5 separate regions of the Homo sapiens genome follow, and regions 2, 3, 4 and 5 are each linked to region 1. Evidence: promoter capture Hi-C in 16 types of primary human blood cells and fetal thymus (Javierre and others, 2016). All regions are on one chromosome and are shown on one strand. The core of a region is centred on a gene start or on the middle of the fragment in contact, and the rest is flanking DNA. Distances in the headings are between cores, read along the strand shown.

What was found. Contacts are between HindIII fragments. The CHiCAGO score rates a contact against its expected background, and 5 or more counts as called.
Region 2: a fragment that was not itself captured here is called in contact with the fragment with the promoter of TEAD1 in region 1 in 1 of 17 cell types (endothelial precursors); the score reaches 6.8 in endothelial precursors.
Region 3: a contact is called between a fragment that was not itself captured here and the fragment with the promoter of TEAD1 in region 1, in 1 of 17 cell types (endothelial precursors). The highest score is 6.0, in endothelial precursors.
Region 4: a fragment that was not itself captured here is called in contact with the fragment with the promoter of TEAD1 in region 1 in 1 of 17 cell types (endothelial precursors); the score reaches 5.2 in endothelial precursors.
Region 5: a contact is called between a fragment that was not itself captured here and the fragment with the promoter of TEAD1 in region 1, in 1 of 17 cell types (endothelial precursors). The highest score is 9.0, in endothelial precursors.

The regions. Positions count from the first base shown.
Region 1 is chr11:12,673,142-12,675,841 of GRCh38, forward strand. It overlaps TEAD1 (TEA domain transcription factor 1), which reads left to right and starts at 1,280. Exons shown (of 13, transcript NM_021961.6): 1 at 1,280-1,693; 2 at 2,268-2,420. RefSeq lists a silencer at 972-1,271 and an enhancer at 2,107-2,700. The HindIII fragment of the contact is 11,683 bases long and covers 1-2,700 here.
Region 2 is chr11:12,877,974-12,880,673 of GRCh38, forward strand. TEAD1 (TEA domain transcription factor 1) reads left to right here. Exons shown (of 13, transcript NM_021961.6): 6 at 1,735-1,869. Among named protein-coding and RNA genes, the nearest start is that of TEAD1-AS1, 44 kb to the right of the region's middle. RefSeq lists an enhancer at 2,574-2,700. The HindIII fragment of the contact is 2,437 bases long and covers 182-2,618 here.
Region 3 is chr11:12,859,099-12,861,798 of GRCh38, forward strand. The region is part of intron 3 of TEAD1 (TEA domain transcription factor 1); the gene reads left to right. Among named protein-coding and RNA genes, the nearest start is that of TEAD1-AS1, 62 kb to the right of the region's middle. The HindIII fragment of the contact is 908 bases long and covers 984-1,891 here.
Region 4 is chr11:12,819,277-12,821,976 of GRCh38, forward strand. The region is part of intron 3 of TEAD1 (TEA domain transcription factor 1); the gene reads left to right. Among named protein-coding and RNA genes, the nearest start is that of TEAD1-AS1, 100 kb to the right of the region's middle. The HindIII fragment of the contact is 3,806 bases long and covers 1-2,700 here.
Region 5 is chr11:12,898,277-12,900,976 of GRCh38, forward strand. All of the region lies in intron 9 of TEAD1 (TEA domain transcription factor 1), which reads left to right. Among named protein-coding and RNA genes, the nearest start is that of TEAD1-AS1, 23 kb to the right of the region's middle. The HindIII fragment of the contact is 353 bases long and covers 1,161-1,513 here.

The DNA of each region.
Region 1 (2,700 bases), core at 30-2,529:
GCATTCTAGCCTAGGTGACAGAGCAAGATCCTGTCTCCAAAAATAAAATAAAAAAAAAATTAAAAAAAAGGAAAACAATGTATTAGTAAAAGTTATGTTTTGTAGAAATGTGTTGCACTCAGTCACAGTCTAGTCTCCTCAGTTACCCATATATAGGGATATAGGGATTCCTCGGGCACAAAATATGTTGTTATTTAATCCTGAGGCCTCAGCTGGAAAAGAGAGCCAAGTGCCTAGAACGAATGAGGTCCACTGTGCGGGAACTGCTTTGCAGTTTGTTAAATAATTATAACAATCACCCGAAACTTTAGACGGTTCTGTCCCCAGTGGGTCGATTTTACCCGTTTTCTGATTTACCGACTGCGTCTATGTCACTTTTGCGTCACTACCTCCAATGGCAGGGTTAAAATGATTCCTTTAATAATGAAATGAAGTTTCTCAATAATGAAAGGGCTAACTTAAAGTCGCCGGATGCAGCATTTCAAAGTTTAGGAAGTTACTTTTGAAAAGTACAACCGGCAGAGATGAGTGAACTTAGTTTTTTAACTGACTTGGAGAAGACCTTGCTAGCAGGGCAGGTTTATTACGAACTCTGTAATTATCCTTCTTTGCTAAGCTAAAGGTTTTCCTTTCCCAACCGTAAGACAGATTTCGACTTGAGTGAGAGCTGTGAACTTTTATAAAAGTGAAAGGGAAGAGAAGAAATGGCAGGCTGGGAATCTGGCCCGGAGACGGCGTCCACCGCGCTCGAGAGCAACAATCTGCATCACCAGAAAGGCAACTTCTCTACCCTACACTTGCAGACTTCCGCGAGTCCGGGAGCACTCAACGCAGTCACCCGCGCTTCCGCGTCCCGGACTAGGGAAACTGAGGCACGGTAGGCGCGTCGCGCGCAACTCCCGCCTCGGCGCCTGCCCCCTGGAAGAAACCCAGGCTTCCAGAGTTCTTCGCGCGAGCGCAGGGACTTCCAAGCCGCGCAGCTCCCGTCCGCCCCGCCCCGCCCCGCCCCGGCTCGGGACAAAGCCCGGAGCCCGCGCCGGGAGACGGAGGGCGGCTCCCGCGCGAGCCACGCTCCCCCGTGGGCGCGAGACTCCGCCCAGCTGCCGAAAGCCCGCGCCCCAACGGCGAAGCAGCCGCGCCGGTCCGCCCCGATTCCCCATGACGTCACCGGCGGCGGCAGGCCCCGCCTCCAGCCCCGGGCGGCAGGCCGCATGACGTCACCGAGGCCCCACCCCTCCGGAGCGAGTTCGGTCCTGGCGTTCATTTCATTCCTGTCCTCATTCCGAACATTCTTAGCATCGCTCGCGCCGCGCCGCGCCGCCTGAGCCGAGCCGAGCCTCTGCTGCCGCCGCCGCGGCCCCGCCGCCCGCCGCGGGCGCCCACCAAGCACTTTGCAGACTCGCTTCCACCCTGCGGGCCATTCCGCGCGGCGGGGCCCGGGCCCGGGGCGGCCGCGTCCAGGCACAGGCCATGCAGTGACGCCCCCCCACCCCTCCACCTTTGCCCGGAGCGCGGGCAGCAGCCCAGCGCGCCAGCCGGCCCCGGGGCAGGAGCGGTGCTAGGCAGGGGTGGGGTGGCCGGGCCCAGGGACCGGGAGCCGGGGAGGGAGCCGGGCACCGAGCAGAGGGCGGGGGAAGCGGCGCCGAAGTTTGCCTCGGACTCGCCGGGCGCTGCGGTGGCTCCCTGGGCCGAGGTAAGTTGGCGCGCGGGGCGGATGCTGGGGTGCGGGGGGCGCACGGGGCAGCGGGGGGCCGGCGGCGCGTCCCTCGCGGGCCGCTCTTTCTTTGCGGGCTCTGCTTTGTGTGCGACGGCGGGCGGGCACGCGGAGGGCCGCGGCCGGGCCCCCACACCCGCCTCCCCGCGCCCCCTCCGAGGTGAGCGGCCGGGCGCCGCCGCGCGACTTGCCAGGACGCCAAGTTGGGCCGCGCGCTGGGAGCCCGCGCGGCAACAGGCGGCCCCCGGCCGGCCGCGCCGCGCCCCCCGCGCGCCCCCTCTCCCGCCGCCTGCACGCGCACACACGCACACACCCTCGGGCGCCTTGGACGGGGTGCGCTGGGGAGCCAGAAGTTCGGAGCGAGCGCGGGCGGGCAGAGCCGCCGCCTCGGAGCCCGGAGCCGGCCTGCACCCCCCTGCTTTCGCCGCCGCCCCCCGGCGCCGGGTACCCCCGAGGCCGGCCCGGGTCTGCGCAGACTTGTGCCGCTGGCGGGGGGTTCGCTCCTTCTTCTCAAAGATGAAAAAGGGCACGGTCGTCTTTGCCGCTTCTCCAGGACTGTTGCTGCCGCTGCCGCCGCCGCTTCATTGCACATTCAAGTGGAAAATTTTCAGGAGTCAGCAGAAACATTGTGTCCAAAAAAGACTGAGTCGCAGTTACCACCAAACCCAGGAGGAGACTCTCCCTGGAAAACTTCCCTTCCCTTTCGGTAGGAAATACTGGGGGATTTGTTTGTTGATTGGAAGAGAAATGATCCCCGGGGGGGAGAAAATCTGGGTACACTTCTAGTCTTTGTTCGTAACAGCAACACTTGTTTTCAAAAGTCCAGAGTCCCGCTTTAAAGAAAGTTTAACTTCTGTGACTTTTCTTCTTTTTAAAAAAATAACTTTTGTATTTTTAAAAAATCAAAGCAATATTTTTAATGAGTCGAAAACAATGAGGACTCACACCTCCCCTCTCATGAAAATAAATGAAATCCAGATCAGAAT
Region 2 (2,700 bases), core at 150-2,649, 200 kb after region 1:
TTGTGTGTGTGTGTGTGGAGACAGGGTCTCTCTATGTAACCCAGGCTGGTCTTGAACTCCTGGGCCCAAGTAATCCTCCCACCTCAGCCTCACAAAGTGCTGGGATTATAGGTGTGAGCAGCCACACCTGGTCTTCCCCTTTCCCTTTTTCTTTATTGGCTCTTTTTCAAAGGTTAATGTAAGCTTTTTGGAAATTCACATTGTCTTCCTGACAGTTATAGGGCAAAGTAGTATCTACACCCTGGGAACACCTAGCACATCTTTCTTAGAAGCCCTTAGCAGTTGTTCATGAGCTTTGATTTTTTAAAAACTCCTTTGGCCTTGCTTTTGATGCCTTGATGTGTTTTTTTCATCACCTTTGGTTATATCAGTAAGCATTGAAGCACCCTCTCTGCTGGTACTTGGTGTCTTAGCCTGAAGCTCCCTTTGACGTTCCCTGGAGGTGGAAAGCACTCTTTTTATTTTGATGTCACCATTTTGTTTTTGCTTTGATGGCATTTGGGCCTGGAATATAGACCCTCTATTGGCACCGGTAGCCTTTATATGCCTACGAGGCTCAAAGCCCTGCCTGTGCCCACCGGGCCTGTCTCATACCAGGAGGCTATTTCTCTGTCTGTCCTGGGGAAGCCACAGAACCAGTGCAAAGGAGTTGAGGGGTAGTTTTTTATTGTTGCTGTTGTTGGGTGCCCTTCTCAATCATTGCCTTTCTAGATAGCCATCTGGATCACCTTTTCTTCCTAAAATGTGAAAAGGCCCACACCCCTATGCATTTTATTGTTCCCAAGTATTATATGTTTGTGTACATATATACATATGTATATATACACATATATATATGTTTTTTTTTTAACCAAAGAAGAAAAAAAATCCCTTTTTATGCAATCCTTTTAACAAATTGTTTATTATTGTATCCAGGTAACAAGCATGGTAAGTATTTTCACCAAACTGAGTATTCTGTATTTTAGCTGTGCTTGGCAGACTTTTTTGGCTAGCTTTGTGTTGTTAGCCTTGGCTTTCCTAGAAAAGACCCGTTCAGGAAAAGGAGAAACCACGTACCTGTAGCATCCCCTAGGCTCCTGGCTTCAGTACGAACCCACGTAGCCTTAGCCCCACGGCGGGGATACCTGAGAAAGCATGCACCCCGCCAGCATGCTGCTTGGCCCTGTTACCCCCAACCCCCGCTGCTTCTGAGCCTCTCCAGCCAGGTGTCTGCAGGGCTTCCAGGCCTTGCATGACCCCAGCAGCTCCTGGGACCATGGCCCTGTGACAGTCAGGACACACAGATAGGGCTCCTCGAGCTCTGTGGACGGTCCTACCCCAGTCCACAGCTACATCTCTTCTCTCACTCCTCCTCCCATCCGTTTGCTTAAAAGCAGGGCCTTTATTTTTTTTTCTTCCTTAAATGTTTTAAGTAATTGGAGAAATCTTCTGGAAGCTGACAAGCTAAATAAATACGTTGTCCACTCTTCTGAGAGGCTTCACATTCTGTTGGAAAATGGATTTAATCCCTAAAAAAAGCCTTGCCCCATTGGGTCTTCCCAGTAAATGTTGAGAGGTACGGTAGGTTGAGTGTGGTTTAGCCTTCTGGCTGTGTTATTTATCCATGCATGTTTGCTTTTTTTGGCCTATTTTGTGGCTCTGTATTTTAGTCCATGTGCTCGTGGCTGTGCCTGTGTAACCTGCCTGGTAGCCATGCGTTATGTATTAAGTTGGTGTGTCACTGTCACCTTCAAGGATCAGACTGCAAAGGATAAGGCCCTGCAGCACATGGCGGCCATGTCCTCAGCCCAGATCGTCTCGGCCACTGCCATTCATAACAAGCTGGGGCTGCCTGGGATTCCACGCCCGACCTTCCCAGGGGCGCCGGGGGTAAGTCATGAGCTCAGTCCAGTAATGACAGCTGCTGGGGTTGGGGTTGGCATGTGCCAGTGTTAAGCCTCCCACCTCCATTTCTTGTCATGTGGGTCAGGTATGTGAGAGGGCAAAGGCTACCTTGTCAACTGATAACTGAGTCTAAAGTGGTGAAAGTAAGGAGGGAAGGGAGGCAGAGAGCTAGAGAGAAAGGGAGGGGGAGGAGAAGGAGGAGGAGAGGAAGAAAAGAAAAAAGGAAAAGGAAGAGGGAGAAAATCAGAAGAGGAAGGAATTCTGAGTCCCTGAAGACATGGAATTAAATGTGCCTTTCTGGGTTGGGCTCAGGCGTCTTCTCTCTTTATCTTTTTCCTGGCCCTTGGTCTCTGTCCCTCTGTCTTCAGGGGCAACTAGCCCCTAAAGGGACAAGGTATTCTATTAACATTTACATTTTGACACCTACCAAAGGCTGAGAAGCATTATGTTATAATCTCAATCCTCCAGGTAATCTTAAATGCTGCTTATTGTCATTGCCATTTTGCAGATGAAAAAGCTGAGGTTATTCAGTAGCAAAACAAGAGTTTGGATAGCTGGGATCATAGTGGAATGGATAGTGATGTCAAGAATCAGCCCCAGGGTTGCTTGACTCCTGAGGCTGCTCTTTCCCTCCTCTATGTCATGCCCCCTTTCCAGCCCACACCAATCGCAGCAGGGAAGCTCGCTGCAGAGAAGCTGCCTGCATTGCCGCTTGGAGCTCCTGGCCTTGTTCAAGCTTTGTCCTCTGCCTTGCTGGGTCTTCACTGCTGTTGACGCAGAATATTATGCAGGGAATGTTTCAGAATGAAGGGAGGG
Region 3 (2,700 bases), core at 188-2,687, 190 kb after region 1:
TTGTACTTCAGTCAAAGTGTGAGTTGACACTGTTTAACTCCAAGGGGTGCCATTTGTATAGGCTGTGGTACACAGTCAAATAGGGCTGTCTTGGATATTGATTTTATTCATTCAACTCCAAGTGCTGCAAGAAATTAAAAGTTAGTCAGGTTATGTGTCACATCTATCAAGGTATTCTGTCTGTTTTCCCAGAAAATAAACAAGTTTGAGGGTAGGAGACATTTTTGTCATCTGGACAAGGTTCGGACAAAATTGTATGTAATACAGAGCCCTGGATCTATTTCGCCTTGGCCGCTCAAATAGCCCTGAACAGGATGCACAGTGAGGCCCCAGGTTGGAGGATGCTTGGCTTGTCTGCAGACATTGTCATTTAGCTCTGGCTTCTCGTAATTAGGTACTCCTAGCTGGGCTCTGTTGTCAGCGAGCCTTCAAGACAAATTGCAAAATCTGTACAACCATCTGAGAGATGGAGAAGTAGATCCAATGATACTACAGGGGATATTGGTAGTTCTCAAAAGTTTGAAAGAGAATGCTTAGAAAAGCAATCCTCAAAACTGAATTTAGAGGTTCTTGTCCTGTGGTAAAAGGGTTCACAGGATCTGAGAAGATCTTGCAGGCAGGAATGATAGACTGAATCTAAGGGGATGAAATGGAGTAGAAAAAATGTAAGGTTCTGTTTTGAGGTCTGAAAATCTCAGCTATGCATTAAAAAGACTGGAAACAGGGGTAGGGACATATCAGAAGACGAGCCCGTATGAAAAAGACCTAGGAGTTTAAGTTGGCATATATTGATAATTTATTGTGCTCCTTAAAAATTTAATGCAGTGTTTGGCTGCATTAACAGAGGTAGAGTATTTAGGATGAGAGAGGTAATAAACTGACTCTGATGCTATAGCAGGAGCACTGCCACAGTTCTGGACTCCAAGCTTTGAAAGGAAGACAGACAAAGGATGGTCACAGGATGGTGTGTGGGAGTGTTCCAAAGCTTGTCAGATAACAAAGTAACACAGGAGGTTTAGCTTGTGTACAACTCCAAGAGGACCCCAGAGCTGCTGTTAATATCTGAAAGGCAGTTAAATAAATAAGGGACTGGACTTCTTGTTAAGAGGAACAGGAAGGATCTGGGGATGAAAGTTAAAGCAGACCCCCAAAAGGAGGGTCTTCTTATTCTTAAATATGTTCTAAGATAGAATGGGCTACTTCCTCAATTTTAGAAGTGCTGACTAAGGCTTATGAGGACTTTCAGGAATGCGAATGGATGACCTAGGGGTACTTTCTAGCCCCCAGATTTCATGATTCCTTTGCCTTCCAGTGATGACCATGTCCTGCACAGTCCCAGCACTGGCAGGTGGTGGACAGAGCCATGACTCTAGGACATTCTAGGCAGTGATGAGAGAGTCTTCGCAATTCTCAGACAAGATTTCCCTAAGGACATTTTGATGTTCGTCTTCATCAGTGTTTCCAGTTCTTTACTCTGCTAGGGAAGATCTGGGGGATATGGTCACTTCCTTTCAGCAGAGGCTGTGTTATTTCCTCATTCATTCTTTTCTCTGTGCCCAGCAGTGTGCTAGGTGCTAGGGGGACATTGAGGAAGAAGACAGAGTTCTTCCCCTCTTCAAGTATGCAGTATATCTGGGAGGAAGTAAGACAACAAACACAAATTTTACAACTAACTATAAAGTTATAAATACAGTTACAGTTTGGGTACATCCTAGGAAGAAGTACAGTTTTTGCCACCATGGGGGTGTAGAACAAGGCAACCAAACCTAGTTGGGCAATTAGAGAAGACTTCCCCAAGGGAGTGACATCCAAGTGAGGCCTTGAAGGAGAAATAGAATCTAGCACAATGGTCTCAGGCTGGTGAAGCACATGAGTGAATGCCACAGCAGCAAGCTTCAGACTTGTTCTTGACCAAAGGAATTTTTCACAAGGATAGAGCTGAGCTGATACAAAGCCAGCCAACAGTAGTGCTATGAAATGGTGGTTTTCCATTTACTGTAGAAAGTATGTAGAAATAATTTCAGTTCCTGGTATTAGAGCAAGTTGAAGTCGTAAATAGGACCTGCTTAGAAGAACCCATGTCTTGTATGAGTGGTTTTTATTTCACGTGGTATTTTGGTAATACATTCTCTGCTTAGCTTCTGGGGATATTTTTTCCTATCATGGTTTTCTGAAGTCAGGTTGTCTGAGACTTCTCAGTTTCCTGGTGGGATAGGGCTAGAAGGTTTTTGTTTATACTTTTGGGCATTGTTCTTTCCCCAGAAGGTTATATAACTTGGAGGAGATTGAGTCATTTTTTTCACTGACTACCTTTAGGGGGTGTCTGCCTTCGTACTGTTAGCTTCTTGTCATTGTCCGGCTTCCGTGGCCACAGCAGCTCGTTCGTTCTCTTGTGGCTGTGATTTTAGCTGGAGTAAACTATGAGTAGAAACTTGAATAAGAAGGAAAGTGAATATGAATGTGAATATGAAAAACCAAAGACTAGAAGAGAACTGGGTTTGTTTAGTCCCAGACTAATCCTTGTCTGTATTTGTTGCTTATATGAGTGACCCACCACCCACAGCATACAAACAGACAAAAAGGCACATCTTAAAAAGATAAATTTCAGCTGGGTGCGGTGGCTCATGCCTGTAATCCCAGCACTTAAGGAGGCCAAGGCGGGTGGATCACCTGAGGTCGGGGGTTCGAGACCAGCCTGAC
Region 4 (2,700 bases), core at 66-2,565, 150 kb after region 1:
GATTTTTTTTTTTTTTTTTACACTTTGCTGTCTGAAATGCTTTAAATGATTCTTTTAATTAAAAAAATTAGTTACCTATATAAATATTCACTTGGTAACCCCTTCATTTAAACAGTCCATTTATGCCTTATGCACTTGTATGTGTGTGTGTGTTGTGTTTCACGGTAACAAAGTTTTTTGTTTTTTGTTTTGAGATGGAGTCTCGCTCTGTCACCCAGGCTGGAGTGTAGTGGCGCGATCTCGGCTCACTGCAAGCTCCGTCTCCAGGTTCACGCCATTCTCCTGCCTCAGCCTCCCAAGTAGCTGGGACTACAGGCGCCCGCCACCAAGCCCGGCTAATTTTTTTTTGTATTTTTAGTAGAGACGGGGTTTCACCATGTTAGCCAGGATGGTCTTGATCTCCTGACCTTTTGATCCGCCCGCCTCGGTCTCCCAAAGTGCTGGGATTACAGGCGTGAACCACCAAGCCCGGCCGGTAACAAAGTCTTAAAAGCGGTCTTATTCTGTAATACGTTGGCCAGTTTTAAACCATTTGCAGTAATGCATTTAAAAGATGTTATTTCATAGATAACAAAATAGCTTCTTGATTTTCATGATAAACATAGACTTGGAGCCTTTTTCTTTTTCCCCGATTGTGAGTCAGCTCTTGGAGGGCATGGACAGTTTCTCACACCTCCTGGGATTAGAGGTGGAGAAACAGAATGGGCTGGGTGGGCAGAGACTGGGTGGTTGGAGCTCAGGGCCTGGGGCAGGGAGTTGTGGGGAGGGAGGGTGGGAAGGTGAAGGGGAGGTGGTGGCAGGTCATGGGGGTCCACTGTGTGCCATACTGTGGAATATAAACCTCTCCATCAGTGCAGAGCCACACAGCAAAGGTTTTAAGTGGATAAGTATGTATGGGGAGTGGGACGTGATCTGGTTTGAATAATGTATACTCAGGACTCTTGCCATACAGTAATTTTTTTCAACCCGCTAGACACTGTTGCTGTGGGGAAGTGGAGAGTGGTTTCATCCATATGGCAGCATCATGGCTGTGTAGCCCTAAAGCCATAGGCACCTCCCACCCCACCCACCCACAGTGGCATCCACAGTTTTAGTCTCTAATAGCACTTTGTCTCCTGAGAAGAAAAGCAAAGTTGTTTTTCCTTTCTTCTTCTCTCATCCCCAAAGCGTTCTCCTTCTCACCCAAACCATGATCTCAGATCTTAGGAGTTACAGGTCAGACATGTCACGGAGCCTGTTTGAGATCAGTTGTCTACGTTGGTGATGAAATTATAACACCCTAAAAGAAGACTTTGGAGTAGGAACTTGCCAGGGTCATCAGACATGGTTGGGTTGAGAGAGGAAATGCGATTATACAAAAAACGTAGAATACAAAGTAGTGCTTATTCTGTGATCATGGCTACTGTTTCAGGGGACAGGACTAGAAGGGAACCCGGACAAAGAAAAACCCTTGGCCTGTGCAGGCTGTGGGGTTGTGAGTGCTGTTTCCCCAAATTAAAATATCTTTATTATTGTCATGATTTTGTTGTGCCATTGAGGTACATTAACTTAAATAAATCAAAGCGAACAATTTTAAGATGACGAGTAAGTCTGGAGAAAAACCTAGGACCCCAGAAAGAAGGCATATTGTACATCCCAGTCTGCTGTAACTTCCGGAGCTGCTGCTGATGACAAAGGGCTTTAAGGCAAGGGAAGTGTTTGCAGCACTTTGGGGGCTCTATGCCTGTCTGCATGCTTGTTTAGTTTTTGCCATGGCCTGTTCACCAGCCTGTCTGCCCTGAAACTGGGAAAGGTGGATCCAGCTGCTGTCCAGGCCTTCAAGAAGCAGAGCCCCATTCAATTGTCCACTTCTCTGTTGCTGCCCAGAGCCAGATCCTGTGTGGGATACTTGGCTTTTCAAGGGCCTGTGTATGGTGTGTTGTTGAGTAGAAATGTCTGAGATGCTCCTTTAGTAGCACCTGATTCTTTTGGATCAGTGATTTGCCATTTCTTATATGAAAACGAGAAGTTCAGAGTTTTGAATTCTGGCCCCAGTTCCATCACTTTCTTGCCCTGTGACCCTGTTCTCCTCCCAAAACCTTTCTGAGTCTTCATCATTAATAATGTTTAATTGGATCACATGAAATGATACAGGTGAAAGCATTTAGAAATGGAAAGCACTGTGGGGGAATATTTTTGTTCATAATTGTATCATAATGTGGACATGGAGAGTTAACCTTTGTCAGCGCTTAGTTTCTCAGCCTTTTTATCTATTAAATGGGAGTACAAATGATACCTTCATTGGGGGTTCCCTGAGCATGCAGTCGGAAACTATGACCTCTTCTGGAGGACCATGACTTTTATTTTTTGACTCTATAGTGTAGGAACATCTTAATTAAAGATTATGGAAAAAAATGAAAAATGGGTTTATAAAAAAATGCCCAGATCCAATTTCATGTATTTGTAAACTATTGATCAACAACCTGTGTGGAACCTATGGCCGGATATGAATTATCCAGTATTAGCATTGATATGAATGCTTTTATCAATAGAGCATTGATAAGGCATTTCATGGAACACACATGTCAGCTCGTTCTCTCACTTTACCTACCTCCTCCGCTGTCTGCCTCCCCTCTGCCTTAGATCTTCTCCCTCCCCTTTTCTCTTTCCTCTTTTCCTATACTCTCTCTCCTTTTTCTCTTTTCCTTTTTTTTTTTTTTT
Region 5 (2,700 bases), core at 87-2,586, 230 kb after region 1:
AGGCAGGAGGGATAGCAAAAGCAGGAAAGTTATTTTGCTTCTACCTCAGGATCTAGTGAATGTCACATGATAATAAACTATAACAATGGTCATCTTAGCTATAATTTATTGAACATGAACACTTTTTTTTTTTTTTGAGACGGAGTATCTCTCTGATGCTCAGGCTGGAGTGCAGTGGTGTGATCTTGGCTCACTGCAGCCTCCGTCTCCTGGGTTCAAGCAATTCTCCTGCCTCAGCCTCCCGAGTAGCTGGGATTACAGGTGTGTGCCACCACACCCGGCTAATTTTTGTATTTTTAGTAGAGATGGGGTTTCTCCGTGTTGGCCAGGCTGGTCTCGAACTCCTGACCTCAAGTGATCCACCCTCCTCAGCCTCCCAAGTGCTGGGATTACAGGTGTGAGCCACCAATCCTGGCCCCTATCAAACATTTCTTATATGGCAGGTCCTATGCCAAGCACCTTCTGAGCATTAGCTCCTTTAATATTCACATATGTTGCAAATATTACAGGTATTATATCCCCATTGCACATATGAGAAGTCTTGAGGTTTCAGGTTTGTGTCTGGCTCCAAGGCTTTCGTGCTTTACACTCAGCACCTTGCTTTTCAGCTGTACCTTCATGGTCCCCATTGGTATGTGGTAGATTTTACCCCCATTCACCTTCTTGACCTGTAGATGTCAGGGCCGTGGTTCCCATTTCCAGCAGTGCAGTGCAGGGACATTTTGATGTTAAGCACAAAGACTTCAAGTTTCCCAGCTTCTCAACTTCACCCCAGCTCTGACCTGGCCCAGGGGCAGCTAGCGAGGCAGAACAGCTAGGAGTGAGGAGCCTAAAGGGAGACTGGGATTCAGCTCAGTGAGTCCCTAAGGCTTGTATCTCATGCCTTCCATAAACTCACTCCTTGCAGAAGGCGCTAGAATGGACAGAAGCGGTGCCTTCTGGAACTGGGGCGGTCTGAGAGCTAGCTGTAAGCAGAGGTTGTTAATCAGGGTTGGATGGACGGATACATAGCCAGTTGTCTAGGTAATAAACAATGCCTTTTGCCCTGTACTCCCCATTCCATTTTGTGTTTCTGATTGCCTTTATACCAACGTCTGTGCCCACACCTTTGCCCATGTTATTCTTTTTTACTTTTGCCCACTGAGACTAGAAAGACTAGAAGCTTCTTAGCAGCTGTGACTGTGTCTCATACATTTCCATGGGCTGTTGTTTATAATTGGAAAAAGTGATGTGGCAACATTTGAAAAAATGTATAAAAAGCTCAAAGATGTTCCCTCCTACCCTTATAATCTCACCTCTTCCCACCCCCATAATCTCACTTCCCTAACACAATGGCTTTTACTTTTAACCTTTTTAAAAATAATTTCTTCCTTCTGAGGCAGACCCTGTTGTTTTATAGTATCTCCCAGCTTCTGTCTTACCTGCCAGGTGGCTAGTCCATGCAGCTGCATCCATGTCAGAGCTTGATAGGGTTCTCTCTTTCACCTCACCTGATACCTTTTAGGATTTTTGAAGCTTTGGAAAAGATACCACTCTGATGTTGAACAGGAGAGGGACCTGGCCCTCTCCAAAAGATACTGGCCTCAGTTGCACTGCCCCTTATATGCAACACTGGCATCAGATGGAGTGTCCAGCCTCCTGTCTTTTGGCATGGTGGCCAGAGATCCAAATGTGGGTAGCAGGTTATAGATTTAAACCAGTATTCCTTCAGGATATATTTCATAGGGTTTTGTGACCAACTGAGTTTGAGAAACTCTAGATTATATGTTTAAAAATGTTTCTTTATGGAAGTGCCTTTTTAAGAGACAAGGTCTTACTGTGTTGCCCAGGCTGGAGTGCAACAGCATGATCATAGCTCCATTACACCTTCGATCTTCCAGGCTCAAGTGATCCTCCTGCTTTAGCCTCCCAGGTAGCTGGAACTACAGGCATGCACCACCACACCTGGTGATTTTTTTTTTTTTTCTGGTAGAGATGTCTCACTGTGTTGTCCAGGCTGGTCTCAAACTCTTGGGCTTGAATGAGTTTCCCTCCTTGGCCTTCCAAAGTGCTGATATTAAAGGCATGAGCCACCATGGCCAGTCAATGGCACTGCTTTTAATACGCTAGTATTTACTGTGAATCTCTAAGAGAGGTCTTATTAAAAGAATAATAGCTAGATTTTATTGACTGCTTATTCTTGTTAGATCTAGGATCCCTGATGAAGTCTGTGGAGTGTCTTATTTAAACCCTGTAACAATCCAGTGAAGTGAATGCCATCACTGTCCCCATTTTAGAGACTTGAGAGGCACTTGCGCAGTATCATAGCTAGTTTGCCTTGGGCAGTGTTTTGTGCTTGAGTAGGATGAGTCTAGACCCACACAATCTTTTTTTTTTTAAAGCAGGTCCCAGTGATTAAGTTCCATGGACTGTACATTCTTAACCCATGTATAATACTCAGCTTTGCCCAAGCCTTCTGTTAGTTGGGACTTCCTGTGGAATAGATTAGTACTCAGGGACAGTAGTTGGAGAATTGCCAGTTTTAACTTGGAATGTGAGCAGACTTGGACTGCTAGATAAAGAAGGCGGATGGAGTTTCTCAGTGAACCCTATTTGGTTCTGAGGCCCATGGAGCCTCTGCATCCCCAGGTTTCTTGGTCTGTGTCACATTAAGTTGGTATTAATGCCTATTCAGTGGGAGAGGCATGCCCGAAGAGTCTG